Linked DNA regions of Homo sapiens: region 2 is linked to region 1. The links are contacts of gene promoters, found by promoter capture Hi-C in blood cells and fetal thymus (Javierre and others, 2016). All regions are on one chromosome and are shown on one strand. The core of a region is centred on a gene start or on the middle of the fragment in contact, and the rest is flanking DNA. Distances in the headings are between cores, read along the strand shown. Region 1 holds the start of WDR33 (WD repeat domain 33). Region 2 overlaps WDR33 (WD repeat domain 33).

Region 1 (2,592 bases), core at 49-2,548:
CTTCTCCCGGTCAAGGAGACAAAAAAAGCAAAAGTATCTTACAGTAATAAAAAATGGGTAAAATGCAATTAAGGCGAGGAAATGAAAAATGCCACAAGAGGTACAACTAGCATAACTGTCACTAAAAGGTTTGAATTAAGTAGGTTTACCACTGCACCATATTCACAGGCTATATATACATACACACACACATATATACACATATATATGTATATATAGCATGCATTAGCTCTCCAGAGTGTACTAAAAAAGTAAAGTCTACGCTCCCCAGAGTTGTTCCTTTCAGTGCAGGCTTTTTGTTCATATTCTAATGTCTTCCAAAGTTCCTGAACAGTCAACTTAAGATCATGTGTGTAGAAACTACTTTAAAACATTCTTGACAGGCTTTCTACAAGTAGCCCGTATTTTTCTGATTTGATTTAAATAGATCCAATTACGGAATTCCCTACCGACCTGCCGCCGCCGCCTCCTCCTTACTCCGGAAGGGGCCACTAATCCCAAGGGTTACAACCAAGTACAAACATTCATTGTCATTTCTTTTAAGAAGGCATGCTAAGATCCTCACTACTTAGTTGCCAGAAGACAACTTAAAATCAGAAACAGGGATCTAGCACAAACCAAATAGAAATACAACTATTCCAAAAAAGCAGGGCTTTGCCTGTCAAGCTGTAGCCTCATCCTTATAATAAGCACCGATTTCAAGCCACGATAACATCACGGCTAAGTCTTCAGCTGTTTTGCAGATTTCACGTTAACTTCCCTTGACCCTTTCAACCAACTACTTCAACTCGGCCCACTTCTTTCCACTCCCGCCCCAAACCTCAGTTAAAATGCATTTCCCTCCAAACTTCACGTCTTAACTGTGGCCTGACTTACGTCTTCTCGTCGCCACCGCTCCCAGTCAGGGCCTTAGTTCTAACCATGGCCGCTTTTCCCGGTTGGCCTCCAGCCTCCAGCCCCCTCCCATAAGTCTCGAACCTGCCTCGAACAGCCGCCCCGAGGTCGATTCTCCCAGTTCCTCCAACCTGTGCCCAGGCGCCCGTCCAGGCCCCCAAAGCACGCAACGGCCGAGCCCGAAAATGGCGGAGAGTGCCGCTGCCTGCTGCAGGCGAGCAGTCCCGTGTCGCCGCCGCACTCACCGTCTGGCTTTGAGCAGAGCTCCTAAATGGCCAGCGAAGCGTTCGCCTTCAGAGCCAGAAATGTCTCTCTTGTTTGGTCTCCCCACCCCGATCCTCTCAATCCCGCTCCTCCAAAGGAGCAGCCGCCATCTTCCCCTATGGGCCACCGAACGCACGCTCTGGGGTCATCACGCACTGGCGGGACGGCGCTACGTCACGCGCGCCTGGACCGCGGGCCTCTGTGAGGTTCGATCTGCGCATGTGCCTAGGTGAGGTGCCGAGCCGCGAGACCCTGCAGAGCGCTTCCTTTGTTCCGGAGCGAGTAGGACGCGCTACCTCCTGGAGGAAAGAAGCGACTGCGTTTCGCAGTGCTGACTTTTTTTTACAGTGTGAGCTAACGTGTATGCTCTGAAAAACACCCCGTTTTCCAGTATGTGAATGAGTATATTTGTACGGGGCCAGTACGGCAGACATAGCGGGTCGTTGGACCGAGCCCACCGAGAGTGGATCTGTGGGAAGCCACTGTGGCACCTTGCTGAGTCTGTTCACCCGTGCAGCTAGCTGGTGGCAGCCCTGGCAGATCCCGGCACACAGTCAGGCTCCACGCCTTACCCGAGCCAGTTGTGCCTCTAGATTACGCCTCGCTTAAAGTCCAGCGACCAAGATAGAAAAACAGCCCCACGATGCAACCATTTTGGAAAACCGCTGCAGTTTCTGCCAAAGCTAAATGTACGCTTACCTTGTGACCCCAGAAATTTCACTTCAAGAGGAATGAGTGCATACGTCCACCAAAGGCATGTGCAAGAATGTCCATAGCACGTTTATTCGTAGTAGTAAAAAACTGGTAACCTAAATGTCCATCAGCAGTTGAGTGGCTAAATTGTGGTGTATCATACAGTGGATTTCTACAGAGAAATAGGAAGTTACGGATAAACGCAACAGCCTGAACGAATAGCAGCTACTGTTAACTTAGGCACAAAGAAGAGGACGCTGTATGATTCCATTTTGATGAGGTTCAAAATATAACTGCACAGCAAGTTGTTCTCCAGTATGAATCAGGAATCGTACCAGCCTGGGGAACATGGCGAGATCCCATCTTTGCGCGTCGGGGTGCGTTCCTGTGACCGCCTTCCTGTGATCGTTCCTGTGATGGGTACTTGGGAGACTGGGGTGGGAGGATCACTTGAGCCCAGGAGTTGGAGGGCGCAGTGAGCCAAGATCGTGCCAGTGCACTTAAGTCTTGGAAGCAGAGTAAGACCCTGTCTCAAAGAAGTCTTACTTTTGACTCCATAATCCCCTTCCAAAAATCTATTCTAAGGATAGCCTCAGAGATGTGAGTAAGATTTGTGTACTAATCTTTGAGGTATTAATGATAGCAAAAAAAAAAGGAAACAGTAGCAGACAGTGATTAAATAATGGCACATCCATACGTAGACTATCATGCAGACATTACACAGTATCTAAAGTTTTTATG
Region 2 (2,592 bases), core at 50-2,549, 88 kb before region 1:
GAACTTTATTTTGCATCCAAGCCTTGGGAAAGAAGAGAATATTAAAATGTACGCTAAGTATGAAAATTACAATGATAGAATGAGAAAACCACTCTACAATGTCATCTGCTCAATCTAACCTCTGAACCGATTTTATTTCTTTTTACCTTTTCTCCATGACTCAAGTACATGACTCATGCTAATTCTTACTGACATATTACTAGGTAGAAATTACTATGGTGATAAAAGCTGCAAGACACTGCATGTTATTAAGAATGCAAAGCTTGCCAGCCTCTTCACAGGGTACATGCACTTTGTGTTGAGGGGACAATTAAAGCACAAGATAGATAAACAATGGAGAAGAGAAGCAACATACTCCCATACTCCCTCTGCTCCATGCCTCTTTCTTCTATTTCCTCTCATAGCATGGATGATAATAAGCAGGTGAGGACAGAACAGAGAAGACTGATAACAAACTCAATACAACTGCAAAGCAGTAGATGAGAACCATGTCTAAGAGTACGTGAACATGGGAAAAATGCTCCAGTACAGAAACACCTTCAACAGTGAGATAATCCAAGAGAAACCTCAAACTAACCAACCAAAACCTCTCTGCGTGGATGAGGTGGAGTCACTTTTACTTACCTGCTGGAACTGAGCAGGAATGGGTTTTGCATAAGGAACTTTCTTCTGAGGTACTTTTTTCTGATCCTTTTGCATCACTTCCTCCATTCCCCAATCTAAACCTGGAATTGTCATTTCAATTTCATTTGATTCATCTTTCCCTGTAACCGTAAAGAAAAGTGGTTTGCCTCTTAAATAAAAGAAATTGGCCACTTGATCAATGAACACATTATTGGAAGAATAGATTTTAAGTATTATGTCATTTATATAATTTTTATCAACATTTCTCAACATAAATCATTTTGGTATTTCAATATATTTATCAGGAACATAAACGGGTCAAGAAAAAATTTGTAAAAATTAAATGTGTCTGTGTAACTTCTCTTACCCATCTGTTCTTGTTCCATAGCTAATTTTAGTTGTTCTGGTATTCCCATTCCTGGAATTACTGCCAGGCTATTAGGTTCGAGGTCATCTATAAATAGTAATACACCATTGTCAATAGAGAATTTACAAAAGTAGCGACTGATAAAATTAATGCTTTATAAAAATGAATGTCACTGATGATTTATAAATAAATCTACTATAAAATTAAAATTCATTTTGTATAATCTTCCCAACATCTAACACTTCTGTAATAGAATACCAGATTTCAAAGAAGGACAGATGTGCAAGAGTCTCACCATATTCTACTCCATCTTCAGACATTCCAGGTAAAAGGTTTAGATTATATCGATCTCGCATTTTATCACCTGGTCGGTTTCGAGTCCAGAATTTGCTGTAAAAATAATTAAAGGAGAAAAGAAGCATGGCTTCACTATTTTTTTGGGCACTAAACAGTACTAGGCAGACCCTTGGTAAACACAACACATTTTTACAATTTGTTTCTTCTACAAATTTAAAATGTGAGGTCATACACTTTGGCTCACATCTGTAATCCCAGCACTTTGGGAGGCTGTGGCAGGAGGATTAAGTCCAGGAGTCCAAGACCAGCCTGGGCAACATAGCGAAACCCTGTCTCTACAAAATAAAAATTAAAAAGTTAGCTGGGTGTGGTGGCACACACCTGTAGTCTCAGCTACTCACGAGGATAAGGCGGGAAGATGGCTTGAGCCCAGGAGTTTGAGGCTACAGTGAGCTGTGATCTCACCACAGAACTCTAGTCTCGGTGACAGAGTGAGACTCTGTCTCTTAAAATAATAATAAAAATAAAAATAAAATGTGGGGCCGGGCAAGGTGGCTCATGCCTGTAATCCCAGCACCTTGGGAGGCTGAGGCAGGAGGATTGCCTAAGCCCAGGAGTTTGACATCAGCCTGGGCAACATGGTGAAACCCCATCTCTACAAAAAATGCAAAAATTAGCCAGGTGTGGTGGTGTGCTCCTATAGTCTCAGCTACTCAGGAGGCTGAGGTAGGAGGATCACCTGAGCCCAGGAAGGTTGAGGCTATAGTGAGCTGAGACCGCACCATTGCACGCCAGCCTGGACAGAGACCCTGTCTCAAATAAATAAATAAATAAATAAATAAAAGTGGAAAACTTCTGTTTTAAGTCAGAAGGCAAAACAAAATTTGAATAGCCAAAACCATATTCAATACCCAATCTCTTTATTGCAATATAAGTATTTGTAAACCACTACAAAAATATTCCCAAGAATAAGTTGGAATATAAATTACTATATCAATCAACCAATAAAAATAAACACATACAGTATTTATTTCCTGTTGCTCCATATAAAGCTTTGCTATTTCAATATAAAGCTTACCTAGTATGGTCATTTGAGCCTGAGCAGAGAATATGCCCAAGAGGATGCCAAGCCAGACTCCAGATCATCCCTTCGTGAGCCATCTCCATCCCACCCACTTCCTTCTCTACCCTGCAACAGCACCAAAGAGAGAAGATTTGTTCACAAAAGTTACCCAGCTTCTCCCTCCCCCTCAAAAAAGACATTTTCTGTTACTCTTAAAATGAAGCTACCAAAGCCTGGACTT

What was found. The method cuts DNA at HindIII sites, captures the fragments that hold promoters and counts their contacts. A CHiCAGO score of 5 or more calls a contact.
Region 2: a fragment that was not itself captured here is called in contact with the fragment with the promoter of WDR33 in region 1 in 2 of 17 cell types (naive CD4 T cells and total B cells); the score reaches 5.3 in naive CD4 T cells.

The regions. Positions count from the first base shown.
Region 1 is chr2:127,809,873-127,812,464 of GRCh38, forward strand. It overlaps WDR33 (WD repeat domain 33), which reads right to left and starts at 1,299. Exons shown (of 22, transcript NM_018383.5): 1 at 1,140-1,299. LOC124907885 (a long non-coding RNA gene) reads left to right here and starts at 1,379. Exons shown (of 2, transcript XR_007087230.1): 1 at 1,379-2,271. RefSeq lists enhancers at 1-281, 364-1,304, 711-790, 871-950, 971-1,260 and 1 more. The HindIII fragment of the contact is 7,008 bases long and covers 1-2,592 here.
Region 2 is chr2:127,721,967-127,724,558 of GRCh38, forward strand. WDR33 (WD repeat domain 33) reads right to left here. Exons shown (of 22, transcript NM_018383.5): 11 at 2,367-2,477; 12 at 1,287-1,381; 13 at 992-1,078; 14 at 625-764; 15 at 1-22. Among named protein-coding and RNA genes, the nearest start is that of SFT2D3, 22 kb to the left of the region's middle. RefSeq lists an enhancer at 1-596. The HindIII fragment of the contact is 2,078 bases long and covers 261-2,338 here.